Regions from separate parts of the Homo sapiens genome. Here regions 2, 3, 4, 5, 6 and 7 are each linked to region 1. The links are contacts of gene promoters, found by promoter capture Hi-C in blood cells and fetal thymus (Javierre and others, 2016). All regions are on one chromosome and are shown on one strand. Each heading gives the region's core, a stretch centred on a gene start or on the middle of the fragment in contact. The rest is flanking DNA. Distances are from core to core; before and after follow the strand shown. Region 1 holds the start of SIGLEC14 (sialic acid binding Ig like lectin 14). Region 2 overlaps LOC101928517 (a long non-coding RNA gene). Region 3 overlaps LOC107985327 (a long non-coding RNA gene). Region 4 overlaps SIGLECL1 (SIGLEC family like 1). Region 5 overlaps LINC01872 (long intergenic non-protein coding RNA 1872). Region 6 has its middle 18 kb from the start of IGLON5. Region 7 holds the start of IGLON5 (IgLON family member 5).

Region 1 (2,970 bases), core at 1-2,500:
TGGAGTGCAGTGGTGCGATCTCGGCTCACTGCAAGCTCCACCTCCCGGGTTACGCCGTCCTCCTGCCTCAGCCCCCCCAGTAGCTGGGACTACAGGCGCCCGCCACCACGCCCGGCTAATTTTTTGTATTTTTAGTAGAGACGGGGTTTCACCATGTTAGCCAGGACGGTCTTGATCTCCTGACCTCGTGATCCACCCGCCTCGGTCTCCCAAAGTGCTGGGATTACAGGCGTGAGCCACTGCGCCCGGCCTTCTTTTTTTACTGTTCTTCGTGGAGCAGGGGTATGCATAAGCAGTGTGCCCAGAGGAGCCCCCACTAGGATTTTTGACTTACCTTCTCATCCTAAGAGTTTATCCTTTGCTGTATCTCCAGCTCCTAAAACAGGGGGCCTGGTGCACCATAGGCGCCCATGAAGCATCAGTTGAATGAGTGAATTCTCGGGGCCAGACACTGTCCTAAGCACTTTACACATGAGACCTCACTGAATCCCCACACAGCAATTCTATTATTGTCTGCATTTTTCAGCTGAGCAAACTGAGGCACAGAGAGGGTAGGTAACTTTTGTAAAGTTCAACAGCCGGTAGGTGAGGGGTCTGGGTTCACACTTGGTATTCCATATCCTCAACGTTCACATTTCAAATGCCCGGCTCTCAAGCCTCATCTGGCTGTCAACATCAGGGATGGGGTCTGACGCTGCCTGGGACAAGGACAAGGATGAGATGAGGTTCCCAAATCCAACTGGTGGTGGGGACCACATCTCTCTTGACTGCTAAGGACCCGGTCATGTCCACCTGATGTGTTTGTCCCTGACAACTTGCCTTCCCTCTGGAAAGAGGAAAGTCTTCCCCACCTGAAACCCCCAGCGTGTGCTTCCCTCACCACAGCTCCTATCATGTCATAAAGGATTTATTCTCCCATCTCGCTGAGGGTCCCGAGGCCCTGACTCCCAGGGAGCTGGCCAAGTGGTGTTCTCCTTCCTATGTAGACAAAGGTGCATAAGGAAAGTGCTGCAGCTATGGGACCTGGTGACCTCAGGAGTCTAGACTTACAAGTCTGGACAAGCCCCTCTGGGGGCCTCAGTATCTTCACCATCGGCGTCCAGTGGGGGTGGGAGCAGAATGGCTTCCCAGCCCCAGCCTCACCCCAACAGCACGTGATGCCCAAGTTCCCCTTCTGTGCGCGTCCACAGCTCTCACTCACCCTCCGGCTTCCTGTCGGGGCTTTCTCAGCCCCACCCCACGTTTGGACATTTGGAGCATTTCCTTCCCTGACAGCCGGACCTGGGACTGGGCTGGGGCCCTGGCGGATGGAGACATGCTGCCCCTGCTGCTGCTGCCCCTGCTGTGGGGGGGTGAGTGAGCTGAGGGAGGAGGGACAGGCACAGGGGTGAGAAGGGGGGCTGGAGCTGCAGCTGAGCTTCTGTGTCCCCCCAGGGTCCCTGCAGGAGAAGCCAGTGTACGAGCTGCAAGTGCAGAAGTCGGTGACGGTGCAGGAGGGCCTGTGCGTCCTTGTGCCCTGCTCCTTCTCTTACCCCTGGAGATCCTGGTATTCCTCTCCCCCACTCTACGTCTACTGGTTCCGGGACGGGGAGATCCCATACTACGCTGAGGTTGTGGCCACAAACAACCCAGACAGAAGAGTGAAGCCAGAGACCCAGGGCCGATTCCGCCTCCTTGGGGATGTCCAGAAGAAGAACTGCTCCCTGAGCATCGGAGATGCCAGAATGGAGGACACGGGAAGCTATTTCTTCCGCGTGGAGAGAGGAAGGGATGTAAAATATAGCTACCAACAGAATAAGCTGAACTTGGAGGTGACAGGTATGGCAGGAACCCTAGGAGAGGACCCTGGGACGTGGAGACCCCCGTATGAGAACAGGGACAGGAGTTGGGCAGGGGCGGCTGGAGGAGGTGTAGGACTTGGGGCAGGTCGGGGCCTGAGGCCTGGCCACTCTCGGGGTCACACCTTACGTCCTCAAGCCCCTGGGGCCCAGGTATCTCCCTGTCTCCTCCTCAGCCCTGATAGAGAAACCCGACATCCACTTTCTGGAGCCTCTGGAGTCCGGCCGCCCCACAAGGCTGAGCTGCAGCCTTCCAGGATCCTGTGAAGCGGGACCACCTCTCACATTCTCCTGGACGGGGAATGCCCTCAGCCCCCTGGACCCCGAGACCACCCGCTCCTCGGAGCTCACCCTCACCCCCAGGCCCGAGGACCATGGCACCAACCTCACCTGTCAGGTGAAACGCCAAGGAGCTCAGGTGACCACGGAGAGAACTGTCCAGCTCAATGTCTCCTGTGAGTGGTGCTGGGGACACAGCTGAGTCCCCAAGGGCAGTGGGAGTGAGGGGGGTGTGTGTGTGTGTGTGTGTGTGTGTGTAGAAGAGAGAGAGAGAAAGAGAATGATAACCAGGGAAAACTCGTGTGTGGGCAGGAAGGACAGCGGTCCCCACCTGGTGGGTTTCTGTGGCCCCTCCTTGGGTCCCTCCCGGGACCACGCCCATCCCTCTTGTCACCTCTGAAGCTGGTGCTGTATCTTTCTATCCCAGATGCTCCACAGAACCTCGCCATCAGCATCTTCTTCAGAAATGGCACAGGCACAGGTAGGAAAGACCCTCTTCCCTCTGGGGCTGTGATGGGAGCCTTCTATTAGCTCAGGGTTCAGCATTGGGAGAGGAGACCCTCCCTCACCCCTCAGCCCCTGGGTCTGGGTCCTTCCTGCTCCCAACCCCCCAATCCCAGTCACTAAGATCTTGCACGAACAGACCTAGTATTTCTTTTGGCTTCTCCCTTTTCTCTGCTCTCTTTTTCAGATTTATTTTTTCATTGTGAGAAAATACACATAGCACAAAATTTGTCATCTTAGCCATTTTAAAGAGTACAGTTCAGCAGTGTTAAATGTGTTCACATTGTTGCAAAACCAAACTGCAGAGCTCCTTTTATCTGGCAAAACTGAAACTTTGTACCCACTGAAC
Region 2 (2,970 bases), core at 260-2,759, 470 kb after region 1:
CTCCCACCTGGACCCCTTTCCTGAACTTCAGACTCCTGCCTTCTACCTACAATCCCTACGTGGGTGGCTCGGGACCACCTCCAAATTACAGTAACCAAAACAATATTTGATCTACACTTAAGAATATTCTCCTCCTGCAGGGTTGGCAATTTTAGTTGTTGGCAGTTAAATTATTTAAGTCTCCATTCTGGGTAACCACATGGGCATCATCTTTGGCACCTGTGGGCATCTGTGACATCTATGGAGGTGTAATCAGACTCTCCATGATATTATTGAGGTCATGGATGTCTTCATGGATATCCATGACATCTATGATATCTGTGGACTCACCTGTGATATCTGTGGCACCTATCAAGCAGAGGCCACGAGCTATCTTTGCTCTTACCCTACGTGCACTCCGTCACTCCATTCGCAAATACTATTGGCTTCATCTTCAAGATGTGTCCAGAACCCAACTTCTCCACATGAGATTCATCATCCTTACCCAGGACTATGTCTGCGTCATCTCTTCACTGGATTCTCTGTATCCACTAATCTGGTCTCCTCTCATCTATACTTTCTCACACTGCAGCCTGAGTGACCCCACTAAAGTAAGTGTCATTTCATCTCACTCTTTTGCTCAAATGCATAAATAAGTATAATGGACTCAGGACACTGCAATATTTGTAGCCTCCATCTCTCTCCAACTTCATTTCCTACATTTCCTACCCACCTGTGCTCAGTTCTCATATCCCACATGACTCTGCTTTTTCTAAGCCTCTTTGCAGCTCACCATTCTCACCTCCTGTGCTGGGTAACCATTGATATGCTCTCTCTCATGGTGAGTTACTTTTGTCCACATGAGAATTTCCTAGAAATGTACTCATTTGTGTCTGTATTCTTTCATCTCAGCAGTAATATTTTTGGAAACTGAACCAAGTTGTTGAATGTGCATTGTAACATCTCCAATCTGGACCCCTCTCTTGAGCTCCTGACAGTTACATCCGGCTGTCTCCCTCCTAGTCCCATTCTGATGTCAGGTGGATTCTCAGAATTAATCATTCTCTAGGAAAGTCCTTCCCTCTTCAGTCCTCTATGGACAAAGCTCCTTCCTTCCAGGTGCCCAGGGGAACATTCCGGCCTCGTCCTTTGTATTGCCTTCCCCTCACTGAACACATAGTTAGCCTGTGATCCTTATTAGCTTGATCTTCCACACACATCCAAAAACATGTCCTCACCCCACCCTGCCTCGCTGGCTCAGCCCTCATCCCTCCTCCTGGAGGACCCAGCAGTGCCTTCCCCGTCTTCCTGTGGCTGCCATGACCCACTTGGGCCTGCTCTGACTCAGGCATTTGAGGTCAGAGTGAGAGTCCAGTTGTGTCTCTGCCCTTCCCAAAGGCTCCAGGCTCCTGTGCGCGCTGCAGCACCCCACGCAGTCTGCAGCTTCCTTCCTGCTGCTCCCTCCTTACCCTTCCTCTGCTCTAAGACATGGGGCTCTGGTTGAGCCCACAACCCCCAGGCCTGCTGCTGCCTCTGAGCAGTGCACTTGCTCTTCCCCTTATCCTTTTCCTGGGATGCTTTTCTCTTATTCAGACTCAGAGCCCGCCTCTTCAGCACCTTCACGTCTTTGCCTAAATGTCACCTCTTTCCACTATCAGATATAGAAACTGTTTCCCAGTATAGTCTGTGCTTATTTCCCTGTGTTATTTTTCTCTAAACAAATATCTCTATCCAACATGGGAAAAAATATTTTACTTATTTCTTTTTATTTGTATCCTTCTGCTCTTCAGAACAACAGCTTGATGACAGAGCTCTTTGAGTCTATATCTATTGATGAACTTCTTGCACATACGGAAATGCTGGCACATAGTCATTATATGTATTCAGTATGGTTACTGAATATGTCTACAAATTAATGAACAAATGCCACATCTCCGCTTAATATCATACAAGGATTACATAAAAATACACACACCTGGATGACATTTAAGACAACCTGAAGGATGATAAGGACCTGGATTGGCAGGAATGGGGAGGAAGGCCATTTCAGGAGAAGTAACTACACATGCAAAGTCTCAGAATCACAGAGGGCTTGGCCTGGTGGGTGTAGGGAGACTTCGGGTGATGCAAGGAGAAGGGGGATCAGGAGCAGAGTCCAGCAGAAGACAGATCGTGAAAGGCCTTCAGTCCAGGCAGTGGCATTTGCACTTCATTCTCCAGCAATGAAGAGGAAACATGGCCATTCAGACTGTGGAGGAACTGGATGAGGAGACATCTGGAAGTACAGTCTGGAGGCCTGTGTTGGGGAGAGATGGAGGCAGGAGGTGAAAAGGGTTCAGTGATCAGGGAAGAGGTGAGGCCGCAAGAATGACCAGGGTCAGGATGGAGAAAAGGGCATCAAGATGAGCCCTGCTTAGGAGAAGGAGGGACAAGAGCTAGTAATTTATGGGATCTAGAGAAGGGAGGGGGGTCAAGATGGAGACCCACACCCAGGTTCTGACTTTAGAGATGAGGCCTCTTTGTCATCTGCAGGATGAAGAACCCACATCCCAGGAAAAGTAGGTTTGAGGAGGAAGACAGTTGGCTTAACTTTGGCCATGATGGGCAGAGCAATCCTGGAGGCCATTGTGGAGGAGTTATCCAGCAGGATGTTGAAGAGTGAGAGGCCCACATCACTCACCTGAGAGATTAACCCATGACAGCATATACATTCTCCTCAACCTCCACTGCCCTCACCGCCTTCTTCTTGTGGAAACTGACATTGAGTGAAGAGACAAGGACCTGTAAGTGTGGCCACATGAAGGGAGCAAAGGGCAGCCAACTCAACTTCCTGTGCCCTGCTAGAGGCTGGAGGGATCACAGGGAGGAAGAGCAGGTCTAGACTTCCTTGATGACAACAGGAAGCTCCCCATCCTGGCATTTGGCCCTCAGTTGGGACAGACACAAACTGACCACAAATGGCCCATGTGTAATTCTCACCACCAATTCAGC
Region 3 (2,970 bases), core at 238-2,737, 440 kb after region 1:
CTCACGTCTGTAATCCCAGCATTTCGGGAGGCCAAGGCAGACGGATCGCCTGAGCTCAGGAGTTCAAGACCAGCCTGGGCAACATGGTGAAACCCCATCTCTACTAAAAATACAAAAAACTAGCTGGGCATAGTGGTGGGTGCCTGTAATCTCAGCTACTCAGGAGATGGAGGCATGAGAATTGCTTGAATCCAGGAGGCGGAGGTTGCAGTGAGCTGAGATCGCACCGTTCTACTCTAGCCTGGGTGACAGAGTGAAACTCTGTCTCAAAAAAAAGAAAAAGTATAAAATTCAGTGGCATTTATTGCATTCACAGTGCTGTGTAATCATCACCACCATCTAGTTTCTGAACATTTTTATCACCCTGAAAGGGAAACAGTCACTTTCTATTGCCTGCTTCCCAGAGCCCCTGGAAACTACTAACGTGTACCTATTTCCATGGATTTATCTATGCTGGATATTTAATGTGAATGGAATAATTTCAGTCTTTCATCATTGAGTGTAATGTTACCTGTGGGTTTTCTCTAAATGGCCTACTAAGCTTGATGAGTTTCCATGTCTGGCTTCTTTTACCAAGGGTAATGTTTTCAAGGTAAATCCATGTTTACGAGGATAATCCTTGTTGTAGCATGCATCATTATTTCATTTCTTTTTTTGGACTGAGTGATATCCCATTGCATGGAAAGACCACATTCCATTTATCCATTTGTCAGTTACTGGGCATTTTAGTTGTTTGTACTTTTTGGCTCATGTGAGTAGTAGTGCTGCCATGAAAATTTATGTACAGATTTTCATTTGAATATCTGTTTCCAATTCCTTTGGGTATATCCCAAGGAGTGAAATTGCTAGTCAATATGATAACTGTATTAGTCTGTTCTTGCATTGCTATAAAGAAATACCTGAGACTAGGTAATTTGTGAGGAAAATAGGTTTAATTGGCTCACAGTTCTGCAGGCTGTAAGGGAAGCATGGCGACTTCTGCTTCCGGGGAGGCCTCAGGAAGTTTCCAATCATGGCATAAAGTGAAGCACGAGGGAGGAGTCTCACATGGCGGGAGCATGAGAAAGAGAGTGAGGAAGGAGGTGCTACACACTTTTAAACAACCAGATCTCATGAGAACTTACTCACTGTCTTAACAGCACCAAGGAGATGGTGCTGAACTATGAAAATTCCACCTCCACGATCCAATCACCTCCCACCAGGCCCCACCTCCAACATTGGGGATTACAATTTAACATGAGTTTGGACAGGGACATAGATAAACCATATCAATAACTCTATGTTTAACCTATTGAGGAACTTGCAGACTCTTTTCCACAGCGGCTGAATCCTTTTACATTCCCAAATACAGTGTATGAGAATTCCAATTTCTCCACATCCTCACCGACACGTGTTATGTTCCGTTTTACTAATTACAGCCATCTTAATCGTTGTAGAGTTTTGCTTTCCATTGCCATAGTGACAATAATGTTGAGCATCTTTTTGTGTGTTTGTTGGTCGTTTCTATACCTTCTTTGGATAAATGTCTATTCATGACCTTTGTCCATTTTAAAGTTGGGATTTTTGTCTCTTTGTGGTTGAGTAGCGAATCTTCTTTGGGGATACTAGGCTCATTAGATATATTATTTGCAAATATTTGGTCCCATTCTTTTTACTTTCTTGATAATATCCTTCGATGCATAAGAATTTTAAATTTTAAGTCCAATTCATCTATTTCTTCTCATGTTGCTTGTGTTTTTGGTGACATATCTAAGAAACACCTTCCAAATCTAAGGCCATGAAGATATACTTGTATGTTTTCTCCTAAGAGTTTCATAATTTTAGTTCTTACACCTCAGTCTTTGGTCCTTTTTGAGTTAATTACTATACTGTGTATTTTCTTTTTTTCTTTTTCTGGTGGGGACAGGATCTCACTTTGTCACCCAGGCTGGAGTGCAGTGGAATGAACACAGCTCACTGCAGCCTTGACCTCCTGGGCCCAAGTGATCCTCCCACCTCAGCCTCTTGAGTAGCTGAGACTACTGGTGCATGCCACCATGCCTGGCTAATTTTTTGTGATTTTTTTAGAGGTAGGGTTTTGCTGTGTTGCCCATCCTGGTCACAAATTCCTGAGCTCAAGTGATCCACCCGCCGCAGCCTCCCAAAGTGTTGGGATTACAGGTATGAGCCACTGCGCTCGGCCTATACTGCATACTTTATGTGGAAGGAGTCCAACTTCATTTTTATTCACGTGGCTCTCCAGTTGCCCCAGAACCATTTGTTAAAGACATTATCGTTTTTCATTAAATGGTCTTGGTATCCTTACTGAATTATCAGTGGACCATAAATTTATCACTTTATATCTGGCTCTCAATTCTATTCCATTGATCAGTATCGGTACCACCTAGTTTTTTATTTTATTTTATGGCAGCGAAAGTTTATTTAAAAGCTTTAGAAGAGTAAGGAAAGCAAGGAAAGGAAAGAAAGGAAGGAAGGAAAGTACACTTGGAAGAGGGCCAAGCAGGCGGCTTGAGAAACCAAGTGCCTACCCAGTTTAATTCCTGTGACTTTGTGGTAAGTTGTAAAATCAGGAAATGTGAGTCCTACAATGTTTTCACTTTCAAAATCATTTTGGCTATTTGAAGTCTCTTGTGATTCCATATGAATTTTAAGGATAGTTTTTTTTTCATGTCAGTAAAAACATCCATTAGGGTTTTGATAGGGATTGCACTGAATCTTGATTTGAGGAATATTACCATCTTAATATTAATTCTACCAATCCATGAACACAGGGTGTTTTTCAGTTGATTCAGGTCTTCTTTATTTTCTTTCAGCAATATTTTTTATTTTTCAGTACACAAGACTTACACCTCCTTGGGTAAATGTATTCCTAAATATTTTATTCCTTTTGATGGTATTATAAATGGGGGTGGTGTTCTTAATTCTTTTCAGATTGTTAATTGCTAGCGTATAGAAATACAACTGTATTTT
Region 4 (2,970 bases), core at 315-2,814, 390 kb after region 1:
AATCAAGTGTTTAAGAACGCACACACAAGTAGTAAAAATCCTTTAAAAGTTGCCAAGAAATGTCCAGCATAAAAGGTAGGATATTAATTGCCTTTTTGGGAGGAAGAGGTCTGTTTCTCTGTTTATTTTATCATTTGTAGGGGGTATGAACAGGTCTTTTGAGATACTGGCTATAGTGAATTCCATAAGGCTGTACCCTATATAGGCATCCTTTTAATAGTACAGTTTCCCATTGCCCATCTGCCTGACCATATGGCCAGGCCATTGGCCACTGCCCATGAATTGGTAAAAACCCAAATGTGGAGGCAGTTCAGCCCACTGAAGTGACTTGTTTTTGCCTTCCTCAGTATGAGTGCCAGTCTTCCAAACAGGATGTTATTAATTCACTTTGGAATTGCCATCCATAAATCAAACCGCTCTTAGTTGGTCAATCAAGAGCTATTAATAGACATCATTCAAGTAATAATAGGATCTCGCAGCTCTTCAGTAGGGAAAAAGCCACCTGTTCATAAATATAACGAGGACCTCCTTGCATTTCCCTGGTAGCATGTTCCTGTATAAACAATTTCCATTTTATTACGAGACTCTTTTGGGCATGGCCTTCCTTACTACAGTGTTTTTCCAACATGACAAACACATCATGAGGATTTCAGGTGTCAGGATTATTATATCCTTCAATGATGGGGCAGACTCAAAGCCCAATAGGCAGCTAGTTGTCTCTCCATTGGAAATTTTCTGGCCCCAAATCCCAGCATTCACCACTGGGTGGTGCTCACTGGCCTTAGCTCCAGTCTGCCTAAATAAAGCAAACGTTAAGCTTCTAACATGTTTTGTCCACCAGATATCCTGTACTGTTTCAAATTAACAATTAGTGTGGGCTTGGGCAATCTTATTGGTTCCTATTTAGCATATTCAATCAATATTGGTTGAAGGGAAGATTTACATGCCTTCTGTTTCATAATAGTACGTAGGGGAACTCTTCCATAGTTGGACACAATATCTTTCCTCATAATACATTTAGGTAAATACATTCACATAACATATTTACATAGTCTGTCCAAACATTCCAATTTTCATCCAAAGTTTCGCCTGAATCTCATCCACTTTGTAATCCTATGTCTTCGCAATCTAACCATAGATGCTATTAGAATTTCACCAACCTTTTGGAATGCAGGTATAAGACTCCCACATGAGTCCCAGAAATATCTCTTATCCATCCCCTGACTATTTTACTACTAATATGCATATGACTTTGGGTCTTCAGTTAGGGGTCAGGCCAAGCAACCCAGGCCCTTTTGTCATTTATCTTGATTAGATCACATGTTCGTCCCCTCAGGAGATCTGAGGTCAGATTTCCCATTGTCATGTTTGCCTTCTGGCTTCTAAAATTCCTCCAAACTAGGGTAAATATAGCAGACTTGATGGGGGACCTTCAACACTGGAGGGCAAGTCTAGGTTCTCACTGCTCCACCTAATTTCTAAGAGTGCTCCACTGAGACCTTTGTTTAGACTCCCTCAATGTCCACTTAACTCATCTCATTTCTTAATAACTGTTTATAAAGATTTCCACCCTCTTGGAAATGTTCGTCTTTTCTCACTCTCTGGTGAACCACTCTAATTTTCTTTGCCATCTGTCATTTCAGCCTAACTTTTCCCTTTAGCCACAGCCCTGAGGCTAGCAGCTGTAGCTCAGGCTGGCCAGAGCCCAAGATTGGGCCAGCATCAGGATCCGCCTCAGCCACTTTCATTTTAACGATTACAGATAAAAATAGCCAAGGGACTGCCTATTTAGTTTGTTTCCTTATGCATCCAGTGGGTCAGCTCCTTGGGGGTTGGATCCATTGTATTGAAAAAGCAATGGTAACTTTTACCTCCTGTAACTGTTTGCAGAACAGCTGCATTTCTATACGCACAGGTGACCGCAGGACAGCCCAGGAATCAAAGGCTTATCATCTTGACTTCACATCCTTCCTCTTTTCAAACCATATGTTTCAGTGAGTCAGGGCTGTTCTAGTGAATCCCATTTCTGATACAACTGAAAAGTTAGGGAATGGTCCACAAGATCCCCTCATTTCTGACACCAACTGAAGATATCAAGGATCCCTGATTACCCTCATTTCTCAAATCATTTGCAAGGTTTTGGAACCCCAAAACTACCCTTAGGTTTGGTAATTCACTAGAAGTACTCACAGAATTCACTGAAAGCTGTTATACTCGTGATTACTGTTTACTACAACTAAAGGATAGAGATTAAAATCAGCCAAGGGAAGACATACAGGGCAGAGGCCAGAAGTTCCCCACACAAAGCTTCTAGTTATCCTCTCCCTGTGGAGTCATGGACAGCATAACTTAGCTTTCCTGGTGATAATGTGTGACAATATGCATAGTACTGTCAACTAAAGAAGCTCACCCAAGCCTTGTGTCCAGTGTTTTTATTGGGCCTCCATCGTGTAACATGGTGACTTCCCTCATGGTGGATCTTAGCATCCAGCTCCTCCTGAAGTTGAGCTGATACCATTTGATCCAAAGCCCCTATTCTAAATCACATTGTTAGACTATCTGGTATTGCTTCCACTCTAAATCACATTGTTAACATTATCTGGTGTGGCCAGCCCTCATCCTAAATCACATTTCTAGAATATTCAGTGTGATGCAAGGTCCCTGGGCAAACAAAGACACCCCTATGAGGTGTGACATTCTAAGAGCTAGGGAGTGTCTTCCAGAAGCCAAGGGCAAAGGCCAGACTTCTCTTCAGGCAAGGTTAAGTTCCTTAGTACACAGAATAAAATGTCAAATTCAGAATAGCAGCGATCTCTATGTTTGAGAGTGGGAGATGTGTTTGGGGAAGGGAGTATACCAGGGGTAGTGTTTTCTTTCTTTTCTTTTCTTTTTTTTTTTTTTGAGACAGTTTCTTGCTCTGTCACCCAGACTGGATGGAGTGCAACGGAGCATTCACAGTTCACTGCAGGC
Region 5 (2,970 bases), core at 252-2,751, 370 kb after region 1:
ATTTGATGATTTCTTGCTCTGGTAATAATAACATTGTAATTGACATCTCTGTTTTCCTAAATTGTATACCAATCTGTAGGACCGTACTCTTCTTTCTCATGAACAATGCAAAAAAATAAAAATAAAAACCTGGCCAGGCGTGGTGGCTCATGCCCGTAATCCCAGCACTTTGGAAGGCTGAGGCAGGTGGATCACCTGAGGTCAGGAGTTTGAGATCAGCCTGGTGAAACCCCGTCTCTACTAAAAATACAAATATATATATAGAGGGTGTAGTGGCAGGCGCGCCTGTAATCCCAGCTACTGGGGAGGCTGAGGCAGAAGAATCGCTTGAACCCGGGAGGCGGAGGTTGCAGTGAGCTGAGATTGCACCATTGCACTCCAGCCTGGGCAACAAGAGTGAAACTCCATCTCAAAAATAAATAAATAAATAAATAAATAAATAAATAAATAAATAAATAAAAGAAATCTTTAACTCCACTAGATTACTGAGCGCACATTTTGAGAGACTTGTCTACTTAAAAATACCAAACTTAAGAGGCTATCTGCTGGAGAGTTTTGGGAGTTCTGCTTTTCTGACACTAGCACCATCATTTCCTCCTCCTCACCTTCCTCTTCTTACTTCCTGGAAGATGAACGTGATGCTGGAGATGGTGCAGCCACCTGGCGACTATGAGACAACTGTGAGAATGAAAGCTAGAGATCTGGGGATGTCACTGACAACAACATGGGGAGCCTGGTTTTCTGATGACCCTGTGGAGCTATTGTAACAACCCCACACAGCCCACTGCCATATCTCTTCTCCATTTGATTGTCACGCTAGTTGGGAAACTGATAAAATGCCTTACCAGGGAATCTAGCCAAAAGTGAACTCCTAGGCCAGGCGTGGTGGCTCACGCCTGGAATCCCAGCATTTTGGGAGGCCGAGACGGGCAGATTGCTGGAGCCTAGGAGTTTGAGGCCAGCCTGGGCAACATGGAGAAACCCCATCTCTACTAAAAGTACAAAAATTAGCCAGGTGTGATGGCACATGCCTGTAGTCCCAGTTACTCGGGAGGCTGAGGTGGGAGAATTGCTTGAACTGGGGAGGCAGAGGTTGCAGTGAGCCAAGATCGCGCCACTGCGCTCCAGCCTGGGTGACAGAGCAAGACTCCATCCCCACCATAAAAAAAAAGTAAAGCTTCCATGCTTGCAGGTACCAGATGAATGGGGCCTGTTTGTGAAGACATAGGAGACTCCTTGGGGACTCCTAGAAAACTTTTGGAGGAAGATGACAAGGAGACTCTGCAGGGGGCTCTGCAGCTGAGGAAGGACAGTGGAATTTCCATTACTCCATTGTTCCAGTGATATTTCCACCATTGCCCCTTCACATTTCCACATCTGCATGGCATCCTTTTAAATTATAAATCAATCATGTCAGTTCCCTGTTCGTTACCATCTGTTGGCTTCACTTTACTGTCAAAATAAACTCCAAAATTTGACAGATTTTGGCAGACTGCTAGAAATACTACCTAACCCTACTTCCCCTCTGTTTCTCTTTCTCTCCTTGGTCAGCTTCTGCCCCTTCACAGTACGCAGGGAAGTAACTCTGTATCTATTCTGACCAGAATGTGAGTTCCTTGAGAAAATTAGTCATGTCCAAATATCTTTTGTGTGTCATGTTGGAATCACCTTTGTGTACCACTTCTGGGTGGCCTTTGTGTGTCATGCCCAAGGTACCTTTATGTGACATAATGGAGTCCACCTTTCAAAGTCAAGTCTGAGTCACTTTTGTGTCTCTAGTACCCAACACACAATCTGGAACACAGCTGGTGCATAATAAAGCTTTATCAAATGAAAGAAGATTTGGAACCAAGAAATTTGGGGTTTTGGCAAGGCGCGGGGACTCACACCTGTAATCCCAGCACTTTGGGAGGCCAAGGCGGGCAGCTCACTTGAGGCCAGGAGTTCGAGACCAGCCTAGCCAACATGGCAAAATCCCTTCTCTACTTAAAAAGCAAAAATTAGCCAGGCGTGGTGGCATGCGCCTGTAGTCCCAACTGCTCAGGAGGCTGAGTTATGAGAATCACTTGAACCCAGGAGGCAGAGGCTGCAGTGAGCAGAGATTGTGCCACTGCATTCCAGCCTGGGAGACAGACAGAGAGAGAGAGAGAGAAAGGGAGAGAAAGAGAGAGAGATAAATAAATAAATAAATAAATCTGGGTTCTAGCTGTGGCTCTGCAGATACCTTAAAATAAATAAATAAATAATACCGAACAATCATGGTGGCCCATGTGCTGTGCACTGGAGATTCACATACTTTATCATTCTCAATCTCACAACAGCACTGTGATGTAGTTCTCAATGCATCACTTCGCAGATAAGGAAACTGAGGCCCAGAACAGCATAGGAACTAGTCAGGTTCACAGGGCCAAGAAATGGACATCCTGAAGTCATAATGTAGGTCCCTGGACTCCGAACCCAGTGTTCTTTCCGGTATGCCAGGCTGCCTTCAGAACTGCTGTGTCATCACGGTTGAAGCCTCTTCTCCTCTCTGAGTCCCATGCTTCATGTATAAAATATGGGAATAAATCAAACTGTCCTGTCCACCTCACAAGGTTTGAGAAAGACAGTGGGAAAAGCATATAGTTTTGCACCATATGAGTTACAAATGTCTTCCCCCTCGACTTGTGTGGTAGGCAAAATTCTAAAGATGTCTCCCATTCCAAGATTCCTGTGCCCTGGTTATTCAATTAAACATTAATCTACGTGCTTCAGTGAAGGGACTTTGCTGACTGAGTGAAGGGACTTTGCTGATAGAGTGAAGGTGACTAATCTGCTGATCTTAAATTGAGGAGATCATCCTGCACTATCTGAGTGAATGTAATGTAATCACGTGAAACTTGCAAAGCAGAAAAGTCAGAGAGATTCAGGAGAAAGAAAGGGCATACATGAGCCAGAAGTGGAGGTCAGAGAGATGTGAAGCATACGAAG
Region 6 (2,970 bases), core at 121-2,620, 350 kb after region 1:
ACATGAGGGCTGGCGCTGGGGAGGCCCCGGGGCATGTTTCCCCAGGAAATGGGTGAGAGCCGGGCGACGGCCTCTGGGTCTGGAGTCTGGGATGGAGTCGCACCTCTGCCTGGGCCAGGTTTCCACGTCCTGGGCCGCATGCCGTGATCCATCTCGGAGTCTACACTCTTCTTTCTCTCCAGAGCCCTAGACTTTGGGAGAACCACAGTCGGTTGCTCCGCTGCCTTAGACAAGCCCAATCCCCTCTCTAAGTACCCAACACGGGGGAATCCAAGCAGCCTCCTTAAGCCTCTGTTATGAGCGGAAGTGTGGATCCACCCCACCCCCCATCATTCATATGTTGACATCCTAACCCCCAGTGACTCAGAATGTGACTGTATTGGAGACAAGGTCTTAACATCGGTGATTAAGGTTAAGTGATGTCACATGATGGGCCTGAATTCAATGACTGGTGTCCTTACAAGGGAAGGAAATTAGGACCCAGGCACACGCAGAGGGATGACCCTGTGAGGACACAGGGAGAAGACAGCATCTACCGGCCAAGGTGAGAGGCCTCAGAAGGAAGCTCTGCTGCTGGCACCTTGACCTGGGATTTCCAGCCTCCAGAGGGGGAGAAAATCAGTATCTGCCGTTCAAGCCGCCCAGTCTGTGGGGCTTTGTTTTGGCAAATGTAGCATCTGCTGTGTGGGGCGAGGGGGCCTGGGTCTCTCCGTCCTGAACAAGTGCCTCCCCGGGGTTCTGCCAGGTGATGGGGTGGGGGCCCTGGCCTGCGGCCCTGTTGCTTGACAGTCTGCCTGTGACTGTCCCAGGGACTTACCTCCAGCCCGGTCTGGTGGGGTGTCAGCTTCAGGCATTTTGGGTACTTCTGTTTCCTCCAGCAGCTCTGGTTTCTTAAGGGGCAAGCCTTCTTTGGCCTTGGGACTCTGATGCTCCTCCCACCAGGTAAGCATCTTCATTCTAAGGCAGGAAGCCCCGTGGTGAATGCTGTGCTCAGTCCCTGCCCCGTCCAGTTCCCAGAAGGAGCCCTGGGCTGGGCCCAGAACACCAGCTTCCTCCGCTTCCTGGTTCTGAGACCAGCACAGCCCCACCCCACGCCGTCAAATGGGGATAAGAACCTCTATTGTCTTGGCGTGGACCCTCTCCCAAGCTTCTTTCTGGGCCTCCTGGAATTCACTCTGTCCCCCAGAGCTGCCCGGCTCCTCTCCTGCTCACAGCCCTCCCATGGCTTCCCAGTCCCCCCAGGACACAGCCCAGCCCTTCAGCCTGGTGGCCCTTCGTGTCTGGTCCATTCCTGCTTCTCTTGCTGCTCTGCGATGTCTCCATATATACTTTTCAGTTTTGGACAGGTCTTTTTTTTTGCACCTTTCTTCCTCCTTCGAATATTGCTGGCTCATGTCTGCATGTCCATGCCCGGCACATCGCCTTGCTCTTTCTGACAGCTGTGTTGTTCTGTTGTATGGCTGTCCCATGGATTATATAACTGTTCCCTTTCCTTTCTTGCTCTGGCAGCTGCAGGGGCCACCTGCTGGTCCCTGGCTGGCGGCTGTGTCCTTCTGTCCCGTGTCCCCTGCAGAGCAGCCTGAGCAAGCTTTAAAGACCCGACCTGTTCCTCCCCAAATGGAGATCCTTCCATTGTTTCTTTCTGCGTTCAGACAATAAGATTCAAACGTCCATTTCCTGTCTGAAAACACTTGCTCTACAAAAACATCCGAAAATACTGATGGGGCTGAGGTCGTAAGGACGTTGGGGACTGAAGATCAGAGGCCACGCATCAACTGAGGGTTGGCTGCACACTGCTGGGTTGTGGGGAAGCGGGGGCTTGCTGTTATGATTACCAAGGGACTTGCTTTAAATGGTCCAGTGACAGCAGACAACAAGGCCTTGGGTCCATACTAGGTAGCAACCTGGATATGACACCCCCACATCAAGGGGGGCGCCAGAAAAAAAATCTAGTCATTGATCAAGGGAATGACAAGGAAGCATGTCTATTTTGGCCTGGGCTTTCGGTGGCAAAAAAAAACCTTTTTGTATTTATCTTAGAAGCTGAGGCCTCCATTTATAGAGATTTGCATCAGAGAGCGACAAAGTGAGCAATGAACACAAATAGCCCCCGGTGTGTTTCGCTGTTGGGCAACTCACACAAAACTCATTTCAGGGGGACTTGCCCACCACATTGTCCGCATATGCTTCTTGCAGGTAAAGTCCCCACTGAGAGCAGCTCACCTTCCAGGATGACCAAGCATGAGAGGCAATAGCCCTCCACGAGGGAAGATGAAACCCAAACTTCTCACCAGAGCCCTTGAGGCTCTGCCAGCAGGTTAGCCTCTCCCAAGCTCTCCTTAAGCTCTGAGCTCATCTGGCCCTGCTGGGCTCTTGAACTCGATAAACCTTTGCAATCTCAGAGCCTAGAACTGCGGCTCCCTCAGTCTGGGCAGCTCCCCACACTCCTTTAGGCCTCAGAGCAAGTACCTGAAGGCTGCTCCCCGCCCCGTCCCCTTGCCACACTCTCTCCCAGCTCCCCGTTTTCCTCCAGGCACTTCCCAACATTTGTCCCTACACATCTGCATATGTCCTCGTTCAGTGTCCACCTCCCTGAGGCCTGGTTTGCTCTACGATATTGTCAGAGGTATTTGAACCAGAGTAACTCCATCTTGAACAGGGGCTGGGTAAAATAAGGCTGAGACCTACTGGGCTGCATTCCTGGACAGTGAAGGCATTCTAAGTCACAGGATGAGATAGGAGGTCGGCACAAAATACAGGTCATAAAGACCTTGCTGATAAAACAGCTTGCAGTAAAGAAGCTGGCCAAAACCCACCAAAACCAAGATGGCGACAAGAGTGACCTCTGGTCGTCCTCACTGCTACACCCCCACCAGCACCATGACAGGTTACAGATGCCATGGCAACGTCAGGAAGTTACCCTTCTGTTTTAGAACCCTCATCCTCTGAAGAAAGAGTCTCCTTCTGCTA
Region 7 (2,970 bases), core at 312-2,811, 340 kb after region 1:
CTAGCAAGGGACTGAGGCTGTGGCCCACCAGGTCCCTGCGTCCTGCGTGGATGGGGCTGTGTTTGTGTGACTGGTGTCTGCAGGTGCTGCTTCGGGTGGGACGCTGTGACGGGGTTTCTGTGCCAGACTTGGTCTATGCGGGCGGCCTCTCTGAGACTCTTGGGGACTCTGTCGGGGTTCTTGGTTGTCCCTGGAACTCTTTGTTCAGGGGAGGGCCTGGGGGAATCCTCCAGAAAGTCTGAATTAACCCAGCTCCCTGCCCTCCTGAGCGCCCACCCTCCAGCCTCCTGCCTCCTTGCACTCTCCTCCCTTTTCTTAGGGGGAAATCTAGGAATCTCCTTGACCACCCCCTGCCTGCCAGGCCCTACTGGGGAGACTCAAGGTCCAGCTATCTAACCTCAGTGCAGAAACCTGCCCCTGGCCCTCTCCCCAACTGGGAGGGCCGGGCCGGGCCGGGGTTAACCCTTCAACCTGCTTTAACCCTTCCCTTCCGTCTTTCCTTCATCCTCCCATGCCCATCGCTCTTCCACTGTCCAGCCCCACGAACCTAGACATTCAATCAGAGCTTGGGAATCCAAGACCCCAGCCCAGCACCCCAACTTCCTGTATCTCCAGCTCCCTTCTCCCCCACATAACTGCAACCTCCCCAAGTACCAACACTTTCTCTCAACCTAGATGACCCTGCTGGGGGATTTCAGACCCTTCCCCTCTTTTCCTGACCCTGGGACTAGGTCTGTGGACACCCTTGTCCCCTCCTCTTACTGACCCTGGGAAGGCATCCATCCCCTGACCTCTGTCCCGAGATGACTACCCCAGCCCCCGGCAAGGACCTCTTCAGGGACCCTCTCCACGTACAGATGAAGACCCCTAACAGGGCATTATCCCCTGCCCCCCACCCCAACTCAGTTCGGAGATCCGACCCGGGGACCCCGAGTCCAGTGTCTGCCCCCTCCTCAACAGGAGCCGCAGACTCCTGCCCCCAGGCAGGGCTAGGTGTCTGCGACCCTCTTGCCTGCTCGGGGAAGCAGACCTCCGCCCCTAGACCCGGCTCCGGCCCGAGGACGCCGACCCCTGCCCCGGGGCGCGGACCCCCACGTCCGAGGTCCCCCTGCCCAGCCAGGGAATGCAGACCCCACCCCCGGGCCCAGACCCCGGCGTCCCGGGGCCTCCCCGCGCCGGCCCAGGGATGCAGCCCTCGACCCCCACCCCTGATCCCCCGATTACCCACCCAAGACCCTGGCGTCCCGGCCGAGCCCCCCGCCCCCGGCGCTGCGGTACCTCGGCTGATGACGGCCAAGCCGGCCAGGGCGGCGGCGGCGAGAAGCCGGAGCCGGGCCCCGGGCGCAGGGGGGGGCATCGCGGCAGAGGCGGCGCGGAGGGGGAGGGGAAAGGGGGGGCCGGTCCGGGGCGCGCGAGGCCTGGGGGGAGAGGGGGGAGGGGGAGGGGGACCCCGCCTGCGCTGCACCGGCCCGGGGGGCGGCGGGGGCGGGGGGAGGGGGCTGGGGGGGCGCGACGAGGCGGCTGGAGCTGCTGCAGACCCGGGGAGGGGGGCGGCGCTGACGGGCAGGGAGACCGGCCAATCAGGAGAGGTGGGGGGCCGGGGAGGCGGGGTCAAGGGGGGGTTGCTTGTTGGAGGGAGAGGCCTTTGTTACTGCGGCCCGGCCCCTACCCCTCCCGCCCCAGGCGTCCCCACGTCTTTCCACCACATCCGCAGAACACGGAGTCTGGGATACTTCCTAAAACCCAGCTCCCTCCTCCTTCAAGTCCCAATCTCATCCTCCCATGGACCTAGGAGACTAGCCCCAGTCCCTCCTCTCTCAGACCCAGGAGCCCAGGTCCCCAGCCCCTCCTCCCTCAGACCCTGGAGTCCAGGCCCCCAGCCCCTCCTCCCTCAGACCCAGGAGTCCAGGCCCCCAGCCCCTCCTCCCTCAGACCCAGGAGTCCAGGCCCCCAGCCCCTCCTCCCTCAGCCCAGGAGTCCAGGCCCCCAGCCCCTCCTCCCTCAGACCCAGGAGTCCAGGCCCAGCCCCTCCTCTCTCAGACCCTGGAGCCCAGGCCCCCAGCCCCTCCTCCCTCAGACCCAGGAGTCCAGGCCCCCAGCCCCTCCTCCCTCAGACCCTGGAGCCCAGGCCCCCAGCCCCTCCTCCCTCAGACCCAGGAGTCCAGGCCCCCAGCCCCTCCTCCCTCAGACCCAGGAGTCCAGGCCCCCAGCCCCTCCTCCCTCAGACCCTGGAGCCCAGGCCCCCAGCCCCTCCTCCCTCAGACCCAGGAGTCCAGGCCCCCAGCCCCTCCTCCCTCAGACCCAGGAGTCCAGGCCCCCAGCCCCTCCTCCCTCAGACCCTGGAGCCCAGGCCCCCAGCCCCTCGTCCCTCAGACCCAGGAGTCCAGGCCCCCAGCCCCTCCTCCCTCAGACCCAGGAGTCCAGGCCCCCAGCTCCTCCTCCCTCAGACCCTGGAGTCCAGGCCCCCAGCCCCTCCTCCCTCAGAGCCAGGAGTCCAGGTCCCCAGCCCCTCCTCCCTCAGGCCCAGGAGTCCAGGTCCCCAGTTCCTCCTCCCTCAGACCTAGGAGTCCAGGCCCCCAGCCCCTCCTCCCTCAGACCCAGGAGTCCAGGTCCCCAGTCCCTCCTCCCTCAGACCCTGGAGTCCAGGCCCCCAGCCCCTCCTCCCTCAGACCCTGGAGTCCAGGCCCCCAGCCCCTCCTCCCTCAGACCCAGGAGTCCAGGCCCCCAGCCCCTCCTCCCTCAGACCCAGGAGTCCAGGCCCCCAGCCCCCTCCTCCCTCAGACCCAGGAGGCCAGGCCCCCAGGCCCCTCTTCCTGTGGGCCACAGTTCAGCTTTTCCATCTATTTTCATGGATAACGAAAACACTGACTTTTGGAGTGAAATTTGCTTTTTTCCTCCACCCCAACCCTCATCCCCAGTATAATAAGGCAATGGGAAGGGATTGGGGGACTTATCTTGGGGGAGCAGGTG

What was found. The method cuts DNA at HindIII sites, captures the fragments that hold promoters and counts their contacts. A CHiCAGO score of 5 or more calls a contact.
Region 2: a fragment that was not itself captured here is called in contact with the fragment with the promoter of SIGLEC14 in region 1 in 3 of 17 cell types (megakaryocytes, erythroblasts and neutrophils); the score reaches 6.1 in megakaryocytes.
Region 3: a fragment that was not itself captured here is called in contact with the fragment with the promoter of SIGLEC14 in region 1 in 1 of 17 cell types (megakaryocytes); the score reaches 5.1 in megakaryocytes.
Region 4: a contact is called between a fragment that was not itself captured here and the fragment with the promoter of SIGLEC14 in region 1, in 4 of 17 cell types (erythroblasts, megakaryocytes, M2 macrophages and 1 more). The highest score is 8.8, in erythroblasts.
Region 5: a fragment that was not itself captured here is called in contact with the fragment with the promoter of SIGLEC14 in region 1 in 5 of 17 cell types (megakaryocytes, erythroblasts, endothelial precursors and 2 more); the score reaches 8.8 in megakaryocytes.
Region 6: a fragment that was not itself captured here is called in contact with the fragment with the promoter of SIGLEC14 in region 1 in 3 of 17 cell types (erythroblasts, megakaryocytes and endothelial precursors); the score reaches 10.2 in erythroblasts.
Region 7: the fragment with the promoter of IGLON5 here is called in contact with the fragment with the promoter of SIGLEC14 in region 1 in 11 of 17 cell types (activated CD4 T cells, erythroblasts, naive CD4 T cells and 8 more); the score reaches 14.6 in activated CD4 T cells.

Annotation. Positions count from the first base shown.
Region 1 is chr19:51,645,105-51,648,074 of GRCh38, reverse strand. SIGLEC14 (sialic acid binding Ig like lectin 14) reads left to right here and starts at 1,250. Exons shown (of 7, transcript NM_001098612.3): 1 at 1,250-1,352; 2 at 1,435-1,818; 3 at 2,015-2,293; 4 at 2,545-2,598. The coding sequence starts at 1,316. The HindIII fragment of the contact is 8,795 bases long and covers 1-2,970 here.
Region 2 is chr19:51,172,281-51,175,250 of GRCh38, reverse strand. All of the region lies in intron 1 of LOC101928517 (a long non-coding RNA gene), which reads left to right. It also overlaps the pseudogene SIGLEC17P. Among named protein-coding and RNA genes, the nearest start is that of SIGLEC7, 31 kb to the right of the region's middle. The HindIII fragment of the contact is 5,922 bases long and covers 1-2,970 here.
Region 3 is chr19:51,203,663-51,206,632 of GRCh38, reverse strand. All of the region lies in intron 2 of LOC107985327 (a long non-coding RNA gene), which reads left to right. Among named protein-coding and RNA genes, the nearest start is that of MIR8074, 1.9 kb to the left of the region's middle. The HindIII fragment of the contact is 1,887 bases long and covers 544-2,430 here.
Region 4 is chr19:51,257,341-51,260,310 of GRCh38, reverse strand. The region is part of intron 1 of SIGLECL1 (SIGLEC family like 1); the gene reads right to left. The region is part of intron 2 of LOC107985327 (a long non-coding RNA gene); the gene reads left to right. Among named protein-coding and RNA genes, the nearest start is that of SIGLECL1, 7.7 kb to the right of the region's middle. The HindIII fragment of the contact is 1,490 bases long and covers 820-2,309 here.
Region 5 is chr19:51,274,081-51,277,050 of GRCh38, reverse strand. All of the region lies in intron 1 of LINC01872 (long intergenic non-protein coding RNA 1872), which reads right to left. Among named protein-coding and RNA genes, the nearest start is that of LINC01872, 4.3 kb to the right of the region's middle. The HindIII fragment of the contact is 644 bases long and covers 1,180-1,823 here.
Region 6 is chr19:51,291,765-51,294,734 of GRCh38, reverse strand. No RefSeq gene overlaps it. Among named protein-coding and RNA genes, the nearest start is that of IGLON5, 18 kb to the left of the region's middle. RefSeq lists enhancers at 1-229, 908-1,586, 1,587-2,265. The HindIII fragment of the contact is 441 bases long and covers 1,150-1,590 here.
Region 7 is chr19:51,310,235-51,313,204 of GRCh38, reverse strand. IGLON5 (IgLON family member 5) reads right to left here and starts at 1,561. Exons shown (of 8, transcript NM_001101372.3): 1 at 1,279-1,561. The coding sequence starts at 1,357. The HindIII fragment of the contact is 5,776 bases long and covers 1-2,970 here.